Linked DNA regions of Homo sapiens: region 1 is linked to region 2. The links are contacts of gene promoters, found by promoter capture Hi-C in blood cells and fetal thymus (Javierre and others, 2016). All regions are on one chromosome and are shown on one strand. Each heading gives the region's core, a stretch centred on a gene start or on the middle of the fragment in contact. The rest is flanking DNA. Distances are from core to core; before and after follow the strand shown.

The links. The method cuts DNA at HindIII sites, captures the fragments that hold promoters and counts their contacts. A CHiCAGO score of 5 or more calls a contact.
Region 1: a fragment that was not itself captured here is called in contact with the fragment with the promoter of FMO4 in region 2 in 1 of 17 cell types (non-activated CD4 T cells); the score reaches 5.2 in non-activated CD4 T cells.

The regions. Positions count from the first base shown.
Region 1 is chr1:170,693,863-170,699,460 of GRCh38, reverse strand. All of the region lies in intron 1 of PRRX1 (paired related homeobox 1), which reads right to left. Among named protein-coding and RNA genes, the nearest start is that of PRRX1, 33 kb to the right of the region's middle. The HindIII fragment of the contact is 615 bases long and covers 2,016-2,630 here.
Region 2 is chr1:171,310,738-171,316,522 of GRCh38, reverse strand. It overlaps FMO4 (flavin containing dimethylaniline monoxygenase 4), which reads right to left and starts at 2,340. Exons shown (of 10, transcript NM_002022.3): 1 at 2,110-2,340; 2 at 196-337. The HindIII fragment of the contact is 2,730 bases long and covers 1,036-3,765 here.

The DNA of each region.
Region 1 (5,598 bases), core at 1,074-3,573, 620 kb after region 2:
TAGAGGAGCTGTGTGCAAACTAGAGCTCATGAATGGGACAGAGAAAGAAATGAGACCCATTTAAAAACTCAAATAATTCTCATTCCAAGGAAGTAAACATTTGCCCCTCTGAAAGGGTTTTGTAAAATAATAAAATAAAAAGTAAAATAAATAAAAATCCTTATTAATGTTCACTAGAGAAACAGAAAAGTCTTTTCCACAGAAAAGTCCTTTATGTGCTGAAATTGGCAGCCGGACGGCCTGAGCATTTATCTCCTGCATAGAAAGTGCTCTGTCAGGAAAGCTGTGACTAACAATAAGCTGAAAAACACACCACAGACTTCCACTGTATTTTATTTGGCAGAGAGGAATTATTCCTCAGCACAAAGTATTTGCAACTGGCATCAGTTAAACAAGAAATTACAACCTTTAAAAGCCCTATTTATCATTAGCTGCAAAAGTGCAGACTTCACCGTCAATTACTCTGACAAAGGATCACAGACCATCAACACTGCACACAGGATAACAGTCTTGGCAGCCAAAAGGCCTTGCTGAGGGGAGGATTAGACAGCTAGCTAATAGCCCGGGGCCCCTTCTCCAGAGACCCCCTTGACACTTCCTTAGCCACCCTCCTCCCCTCTCAGGACTGACTCTCCTATCTCCAGCCCTCGTCTCCCTTCACCTCATCTAGTGGAGACTGCTGGACTGACAAGGTTTTGGCAGAAAGATGTGACAGTTGTGCCACCGTCATTTCTTAAGAATCATTGGCCAAATCAAATCAGCAACAACTTTACGCCAATTCTGCTCTGAATGTGTTCTGTGGATGAAAATGGAAATTACTAGATAGATATCTGAAAGCTGAAGAAATAATACGGTGTTACTCCTCTCAGCTGCTTTGCAAGGCTAAATGGTCAGGAAAAAAAATAGTCTATTTTAATACGCAAAAGGCCTCTACTGTGATTCTAAAACAACTTTCTAAACCCTGAATAGTGCCTATGTATTCTTGGAAGAAGCCTTTTTGCATTGAGCTGAAGCATTTCCCCATCTTTAAATGATTCCATTCTTTAGGATCCGAAAAATAAAGAGACGCTTTGTTTTTCAGTTTTTAATTTTTTTAAAAAGTGTTTTTCTCAAGTGGTTATATAATGATAAGAAATCTCTTTCAAGAAACATATATAAGTATATAGCCTTATTTAGCTTTAACTTTCCAAAAAAGTACAAGGTAATAATCAGTGTTTCTGTCACCTTGTTGCCAGTTAAGTTGGTTTGAAATGGTCCTGGAGTTTCTCTCAGAGGCACAAAGCTTACAGATGATTATTTTTCTCTTCAATATTTTTGTTTTTGTTGGCTATATTTGTCTCCATTTACAAATGTGAATAATTCTTGAGAATAAAGTAAAATAGCGTAATATGTGTAAACCACTTACATAAGATTTGGCTCATAGTGTTTAACAAATGATGATGATACTGATCTTGGAGATGATACTAACAAAGATAAAGATGATGATGATGGGGAGGTGGAATATGCAGTATTAAAAATTATGTTATATAAAGGCCTTTTAATAATACAAAAGAACACAGTGATTTATATATAGATCTAGATCTATTTATATATGTATATATAGATATACATATTTGTATATCTATATATTTATACAGAGATATATTTCTACATATTTATATATACATATTTATATATCTTTATATGTATATATTTATATATCTATATATGTATATATATTTATATATGTATATATTTATATATCTATATATGTGTATAGATATTTGTATATGTATATATATGCATATATAAATATATGTATATTTACAGATACATAAAATATATCTTTTTTTAAGGATTCCAGCTGCAAATATGGTGTATTCTTAACTATATAAGAAAATGTTCAGCAAAAGATTGGAAGAAAGTGCCTTTGAATAATGCAAAGATTAGAAGAAAAACCTCTGAATGATGCAATAATGAAGACTTTTTCCCTTATCTTCCTTTCTATATAGTTCTCTAATTCTTTAAGATAAGCTTGTCTTACATGTATTATTATAAGAAAATAGAAAATACAGGCAAGTCAATAAATCAAAACAAAAATATCACACTTGGAAGATTATGTATTTATAAAACTTTTACACATGCAATATTATAACCCTTCAAGGGAGATCATTGTTCCCATTTTACAAAAGTAACTAATGCTCAAAGAGATGAAGCTGTTTTCCCAATGGAAATTAGTTCCCCAGCACAGCCAAAGCTAAGAAAGACATGGCTTATCTTACTCCTAGGCCTCTGCGCTTTCCATTTCTCCTGGCTGTCTCCTGCCTGGAGAGCGTGTGCATGCATGTTCACATTCCATATCTTTTCCAGTTAATGTGTATTTAAGAAGTGGCTCTATTCATGTATGAGGCCCCTAATCTCTCCAGATTAGAGAATGTTCCTTCACGTTTGGTCTGCTATGTTCATGAAAACTATCACAGGGCTATCGCTTGTAGATGACCTCCTCCAAAAATCACAGGAGTTTGGATAGTTTTATTTAGCTCTATTAAGTTCAAAAAATGTGCCAGGCAGATTCTCAGTCCAAAAATAATCTCCTTTCATTGGTGTTCTAAATTAACTCATGGAGGAATGAGCCGAGCTAAATTAAAGCTTTCATACAGTGAGGCCCAGGGATTTTTACTGAGTGGTAAACGTTTTCTTTCTCTGTGAGAACTTTACTGTTTCCTTCCTCTAAGAGAGGCTGTGCTTAGAAGCAAAGAAAGTAGCTCAAAGCAGATTTGTGAGAATTCATTTTATTTGACAAAGACTCTTAGTGTAAGCCCCCAGTGTGGAACCTTTAAAATTTTATAGGTTTTCCTACCTTTTAAAGTAATTTGCATGTAAATAAAGGGATATTAATCTCTAGCACAAATGGCAAAATGTGTTCTTTGCCCTTTTTTTAACTGGAAAATTGAATTCGTAAGAATCATTGAGTGAGGTATTTTTACTTATAAACGACTTCAAATAGTTTGACAAATCTTGACCACATCTCTTCTGGACTGCTGGCTGCACCTTATGTTATCTTTTCATAACTATTGGAATACTGTGGCACATTCCTCTCTGAGAACCGCACACTAGAGAATAGGCAATGTAGGACGTAAAATATAATGTTAAGATTCAGGGTTGCCTCTTTTTCTCTAATATAGACATATCTCTGCTGGTCATGGTTAATGACGTATTTATCACTATTCTTGCAGTGTGGGGATAACACCCACAGGGTTTACAAATAGACCTAGACAAGCATGCCTGGCTTGTCCTACTGCCATATGGCCCGGATACTTTTCATGTGTCACTCTCTCCTTTGCTCCTGCCTACCTTGCACCTTGAATGAGTGACCAGTGCAGGTGTGAGGCACATGCTGATCCCTTCTGTCTCTTTTTCTGTACTGGTCTTTGGACATGTCTACTGCTAAAGATAGAGAAAACTAAAAGGCCAAACAAAGCCTTTATGTTGAAATGTAGAGAAAAGCATGTTTTATTTTATTTCTCCACACTGGACATCTGGATGATCCTAGAAAAGTCATCCTAAATTGCTCCAAGCATGTGCTATGCATTCAATAAAGGTTCCATCAAAGGTCTCAGAGAATAGAGAGGGGGGGAAAAAAAGCATACCCAGGAAAAGAAGAGAAAAGAGAAAAGAAGGATGGGGATCACGATATTTGAAGGAAAAGATGCACGTTCATACTGATCACACAAAGAAAAGTGTGTGAGAGTGAGGGCAGGCACTCAGGGACTCTTTACAGATTTGTTGTTGACTGGAGAAGTGTTTGAACTAATAGGAAATATAATTGATTGGAATTGATATGTTTAATTAAGTTGCAAAAACTCAAGCCTGGCCACATAAAAAATTGTGGTCTTGATTCTGAAGAAGAAAATACTCTCTTCTATTCAACTGTGACTGAGGATCCCACACATCCCCAGCAGAGAAGAATAGCCTTTCTACCCCTGGACAATTACTCCTTCCACCAAGCGTATGTCAACAGACAAATGACACTAGTGTCAAATATGTTCTAAAAAGGTTTTGGTAAAAAGAGAAAAACATCCAACTGATTGAACCTTAGGTATGTAGTATTAAAATAGCATCTCGTTTAGAGTGTCTACAACCATAATGCAGCTATGGGAAAGCCATTGGTGGGACATAATAAGCATTATGTAGGGGCTCAGTTTCCAGTCACAGTTGTGCAGCTAGCTGGCTGATCTTGTGCAAATCACTTCAGTTTCCTCATTTTGCCAGTAAGAGATTTGGAAGGGCACCCTCTCTAGCTCCTTCTGTCTCTAATAGTTCATGGGGTATGGTTGTTGCATTTAATCATAACAACATCGGATATCTTGCAAATCAGGCCTTCACGGACATTTAGCAAACCATCTCCACCATCACTGAGGAGATAGACTCTTCCAGTGCAAGTCTTTGCAACTACAAGTAAGGTCAGATCACCACAGCATATCTCCCAATGCATCGGATTGTTAGACTATGTCAGTTTCTCCAACTTACTACATGAAGAGGCTGACTGACATATTAGAAGCATTGATGCCTTTAGCCTCCTCTTAATTCTTAAGTCTACCGTTATTTTAAAAACAACAAAATCCTTAGATGTTATCATACTTTTAATTTTTATCTATAAGGCCACTTCAAGCACAGCTGTTACTCATTAGATCCAGTGGCTGAGAGCATTTGATTACTACAGGAAAAGGAAAAAGGGAAATCAGTAAAGTTTCATTTACAATCTGCTTTCATTGTAAAATAGCAGAAGTCCTGAATCAACAAGAAGATCTGCTTGGTACTAAAAGCATAAATATGCTTTCTTAAAACAGCGGTAAATACTGTGGGCACATTTCCCAGATTTAAAGTACTATCCTAATTCTGTCTTATTTTCCCCATAAGTACCCTCATACTTCTCAACCCGTGTGACTAGCTTTTGAATAAGCAAATGCAATTATATAGGGAATATGCCTCTCCTAGATGGAAATATAAATTTTGCATGCACATACACATAGACATTCACAGAATTTTCATATAAATTTCATAAGAATCATTTCCACTCTACAACGAAAACAGCTGTTCTGTGTGAAAATCTTGAAGCAAGGCTGGATCCTGTCTGCCAGGAATACTGGAGAAGGAATTTCGGCTCCCAGAATAGGTTTGGTTTGATCATTTATAAGCTCTCTTTCAACTCTGAATTCAAAGTTTCTGTAAGTTACTATTTTTTCCTAAATTCATTTTAAAAAATTGATCAAACCTTTCTACCGTGTTTCATGTGTTGGCAGGTACTATAAAAAAAACACAAGTGAGAAACTGAAACCTTATGGTGCTGAAATTTGGATATATTTGCACCTGGGGTTTGGACTCACTTGCACCTGGAAACCAAAGTATGTGGTAATAAAGTCCTTCGTGGCGACAACTTTCCTCCAGGAAAATTGCAAAGTTCTTTACAAAACTAAGCCTCTCTTTGCTTCATGGAATCTCTGTGTGGTGAAAACATGAAAAAAAAACTAGTAATAAAATATGTATAAATAAGATGGAATTATTGCTCCCAACCATTTTTCTTTGTGGGCACAAACCTTGCCTGAGTTGTATACTATG
Region 2 (5,785 bases), core at 1,091-3,590:
CTATGTTGAAGGATTGTTTGCATTTTAAAAAACTTGATATTACTTACACAAAAAAGTGCCTTGCACAAAATATTTACTCAGTGTTCATTCTCTACCTCCCTACTTGTCTCCTGTCTTCCTTCTCTTCTCCTTGGAAAAGACAGTTCATACAGATAAAATGTATCAACAAGTTTGGAAAGGAGTAGGCAGACATACCTGTGTTTTCCTTTGAGTTGAGGAGTAGGAGGTTTAGACAGCTTCTAATCAGAAACAAATGGCCTCCACCAATAAGAATACTTGAATTTCCAGGCCACTAGGTAGAGGCCTGGGGCTGGCAGATCTTTGCTGTGCTCTATCTCTGCAATCATAAGGTAAAAAGAAATGACTGCTAACTGAATTGCCAAAGTGAAAAATATACTGACGTGAATAGACTGGAAGCAAATTAATTCATTCAACAAATATGCCCTGGGTACCTCTAAGTGCAGGTCCTAAGCTAAGTATGGGGCCCTGAAGATAATGAAGACCCTGCAACTAAGAAATAGTAGTAAAGTCTTAGAATTTAAAAAAGACCGTGACTGCTCTTAAGATGTTGTATATGGAGAGGCTGATACTACCTTGTGCTAAGTCCTATGGTAGCAGCATGCTCTAGGCATGAATGCTTGCACTCTCCTGGCCTGTTTATTATCCCTGTCTAGAGACCTAGTTAGTGACACAGAGTGGCCTGTGGGGTTAAAAACGTGCTGGGCAAAAGCACTTTAAGGACTGACTTAGAGACTCTACAGGCAGTAGAAACAAATTGGGAATTAGCACCTTTTAAAATTAATCCGTATTTACAGACTATAAATTTCTGAATGGGAGCAACCTTTTTAAATTTTGCCTTGAGTCAGTAGAGGAAGGTAGTGAGTGAACTGGAAATTGAGAGATCTGAGTTCTAGTTCTGCTTCTGCCTCTAAGCAGCTTGTAACCCTGGACACAATTCTCAATTTCTCTGAGCCAGTGCTTCCACATTTGTAAAACAGAGGGTTCAAGTGGCTTTCTCTTTGTTTCCTTCAAGCTTGAAAGGACTGTTCTTATGTCTGAAAACCAAGTAATTGGTGCACAAAAAAAAAAAGATATGAATTCAAAGGTAGGCGAGAATACTGCAGGCTTGAAGGATTGGGAGAACGTGTGTGCAAACTCTGCAAACTATAAAGTGGACTTCATAAGGTACTTGGTTGCTCAAAGGTGCTTATATTTATTTATTTATTTATTTGAGTTGGAGTCTCACTCTGTCTTCCAGGCTGGAATGCAGTGGCACAATTTCGGCTCACTGCAACCTCCACCTCCTGGGTTCAAGTGATTCTCCTGCCTCAGCCTCCTGAGTAGCTGAGACTACAGGCAGGCGGCACCACGCCTGGATAATTTTTGTATTTTTAGTAGAGACGGGGTTTCACCATGTTGGTCAGGCTGGTCTCAAACTCCTGATCTCAAGTGGTCTGCCCTCCTCGGCTTTCCAAAGTGCTGGGATTACAGGCGTGAGCCACCGTGCCAGCCATAGGTTGCTTATATTTAGTCCCTTGGCAGAAAGGAGACCTGACCTATTGAACTAGACCTTTGTACAACGGGAAAACCCCACCCTATACCTGACTGACCAGCAAATGTAGGAATCCTTTATGAGACATGGAGAGACTTGGGTGATTTGCAAATCATGTAATCAATTATGATTTCTTTGAATTTGAAATTTGATCATTTTATGTTTCTTATCATCATCCTACCATGCTCTTGCTTTGTTACAGTATTTTTTTCCCACGCCATCTATGGGGTATTTGTTTCCCAATGGCTGGCATTTCCATCTCATTCATAAGATGAAATCAGAGGTCACTGGAGTCACTGAAAGTCTCATGATTCTGTTTATCTCACTGACACTTTCCTTTTGGATGGTTCTGTCCACAACATAACTTTGTTTCCTTACAACTTCCCTTTGCTTCCTGACTCTCTCCTTAATTCTCTTGCTTTAGCCCTAGTCAAGAGACCCCAAAAGAAGATAATCACATTCATTCTTAAGGAACACACTCCAAGAAAAACATTCATCTTTTGTGAAAGCAGTTTCTGGATCATTTCCCCATTAAAAAAAAAATCCAGGACACTTACCTTGGTTAGCATAGAGCAGATTCTTTGACTTAAATTATTTCTCAAAGTCAAGGAAAGTGTTTGTCTTTTTTTTTTAAAAAAGCTCAAAACCCAAATTCTTTTTTCTGAAAGAAAAATAAATGGAAAGATGACTTTTGTAAAAGTGCCCTCAGTTTAAAACAAAAGCCATTCGTCTTTTCTGTTATGCTAGTGACAGCAGAAAGTATACAGACTAAGGAAAAAAAGTTGTGTAAGAGGCAAGCGTGATACTTCCGTGATCTTAAGGGAGGGCGGAATGGTGAGTTAGAATACAGCTGTTGGATTGGCAGAACATAAACGCTTCCTGCCCCTTTACCCCACCCTCCTCAACGTCATAGTTCTGGCAAAGCCCTAAAGCTATGGGAAGCACATGATAGCGTCGCTTTTGCCATTATAGTCTGTAGAGGGCGCCAAATCACCCCAAATTACAGCTTTCTCAGCGAAACAGGAGTTCTACTTTTGGAAACAAACTTCTACACCCTGACTCTTGCTTGGATTACCATAGGAGCTGTCCAAAGGAGAAAGTTATTTAGATGACCATTACCTCATCAAGTTCTTTCATGCTTGGAGTTCTCCAACCCCAGAAATGTGATTTTAAAGTTCAGGACTTACAAGGAATTTAAGCTGTTTTGTCCTTCAGATTGGATCAGCAGAGGGAGCTGGTGAAATGTGTTTGAGAAAGCATAAAGCTATTTTTAGATATTAACCTAGGGCACAAGAAAGGTAATAATTATAGAAGCTGTGGCAGAAATAGAAAACTTAACTGTTTTTCCTTCCACTGTGTGCTTGTAAGATAATATAACAGACCATCTTTAGGACTTGTGTTTAGGGACATTTTCCAACATGGTTCACTGAACAATTTCTAAACCACATTTGCTTGTGACTACACATGCAAATGCCTACAGGAGTGAGGAGGGTAACATACACGAGGAAAGTGGGCCAGATATGATCTGACTGGAAAGTACTTTCTCTGTCTATTCAGTTCAGCTAAATGTTGCTATTTGAGAAAATGAGCCCAATATGGCAAGGCCTTAGGTTCTTTTCAGTAAAAGCTGCAAATACAGATTTTAATATAAAATCTTCTGTTGGCAGCAAATATTTTCTTTTGAAAAATATCATGGAATATTATGCAGCCATAAAAAGAAATAAGATCATGTCCTTTGCAGGGACATGGATGAAGCTGGAAGCCATCATCCTCAGCAAACTAACACAGGAACAGAAAACCAAACACTGCATGTTCTCACTCATAAGTGGGAGTTGAACAATGAGAACACATGGACACAGAGAGGGGAATGTTGTAGGGCCTGTTGTAGGGTAGGGGGTGAGGAGAGGGAACTTAGAGGAGAACAGGTCAATAGGTGCAGCAAATCACCATGGCACACGTGTACCTATGCAACAAACCTGCACGTTCTGCACATGCATCCCACTTTTTTTTAGAAGAAATAAAGAAAAAAATTTAAAAAAAGAAAAAAAAATATTGTGTCCAGAGTTAGTTCCTTCCGGTGGGTTCCTGGTCTCCCTGACTTCAAGAATGGAGCTGCGGACCTTTGTGGTGAGTGTTACAGTTCTTAAAAGATGGCACAGACCCAAAGAGTGAGCAGCAGCAAGATTTATTGTGAAGAGCGAAAGAACAAAGCTTCCACAGAGTGGAAGGGGACCCGAGCCAGTTGCTGCCGCTGGCTGGGGTGGCCAGCTTTCTCTTATTTGTCCCCTCCCATGTCCTGTTTCTGTCTTATCAGAATGCCCTTTTCTCAATTCTCCCCACGATTGGTTACTTTTAGAATCCTGCTGATTGATCCATTTTACAGAGCGCTGATTGGTCCATTTTACAGAGCACTGATTGGTCCATTTTACAGAGAACTGATTGGTGCATTTTACAAACTTCTTGCTAGCTACAGAGCACTGATTGGTGCATTTTACAATCCTCTTGTAAGACAGAAAAGTTCTCCAAGTCTCTACTCGACCCAGGAAGTCCAGCTGGCTTCACCTCTCAATACCCCCTTTAAACAGGACACCCCAACTGCTTTTGAGAATTGCGCAATGACTGCTCTAGCTACTTCCTGCTGGATAGGGGTGAAGAAGAGACCCTGAATTGTAGTATCCTCCAGAGGGAAACTCTCTAGGTATCAAAGGGCCAGTGGGTCGATCCAGGGGGTCCTTGGTAGAAGTTGTTAGTTGAGCTCATTTGGGGTTTAATTTGCAAAACCATCTGTAGCTTGATGGCCTCGATCCTGGAGGAAACAAATTGACAAAGAGCTTAAAAATACAGGGCCCGAAGGCAAGTAATAGCAAGATGGTTGTCATGAGACCTAGAAAGGGGAGAAGCCATGTTGCCCAACTCCAGAGAATGGTATAAGAATTTGAAAGGCATTGTCTGATTTCAGAAGACTTTTCCTGTAAATGCCGGGTGGCGTCTCATATTAACCCTGACTGGTTAGTGTAAAAGCAACACTCGTCCCCTAAGAAGGTGCAAAGTCCTCCTTTCTCAGCAGTGAGGAGGTTAGGCCTCAGTGGTTTTAGAGAGTCACTGCTGCCAAAGAGTCTATTTGGGATTGTAGAGTAAGGATAGATTTTGTTCTTTCTTGCAAACTGCCTGAGAAATGCTTTGAGAGTGTGTGGTAGTAGGATAATGAAGTGGATAAATCTGCTATTCCGGTTCCTGTAGCAGTGGCCATTCCTAACCCTATAAGTAGGGGTATTAGTTGTATGGCCCTGTGCTGATGGACTTGTGCTTTGAGGAGCACTGATAGGGTCTGGGCAATGTTTATATTGGGACTTAGGAAGACTAAGGTGCAGGTGCCTGTCCAGTTGGTGGGGAGGCAGATATAGGTTGACATTCCATGTAAGAAGAATACGTCTTGGCTGGGTAGACAGAACTGGTTGTGTACGTTAAAAAGGTGTGTGAGTTTGTTGTTTTCATTTTCCCATACTCCTAGAGTACGTGCCAAGGTGGCTCCGGTGAGTGGCTGGAAAGGGGTGTTGGGAGCAAACTGAGTGGCTCCCTGTGCTCTATCTTCCCATTGGGGGAAAAAGCCGTTTTGTATCTACTAGGAACCATTCAATAGATTAATTGAAAGAGGGGATGAGGAGGCATTCACTAGTGGTGGGGGCACTGCTGCAGGGGGTCCAGGGGTGAATGGTCATGCAGGGAGTATGTTTGCTATTAAAAAACCCAGACTGTTTGTTAAGCAGGGAGGAGGTGATGATTTTTGGAGGCTCTGAGAAGTGGACAAGCCATCTGAGTGGAGCTGTTTGGGTGACTCGGAAGTTACTATAATCAGTTCGGGCTTGAAGTTGTAGGATGTAATTACACTGATGGGATAATAGGTCCCCCAGGGGCAGGCCTGATAACGGGTTGTGTTGGATGCATAGAGGGGCTTGGAAAGTTAAGATGGTATTCATGGTTATAGGGATTTGCCTTCTCAACCTTCCCTAAGGATTGTGGCCTCCAGGCGCAGTGGAGGTAATATGATATCCCTAGCACCCTGGAAATTCCCTGTTACCGTGGCTTTAAAAGCCAGACCATTGTCACTTTGTAAGCTTTGGGGAAGCCCAAATCTAGGAATTATTTCATGCATTAGGACTTTAACCACTTCCTGAGCCTTCTCTGTCTTGCAGGGGAAGGCTTCTATCCAATTTGTAAAGGTTTCAACACAGA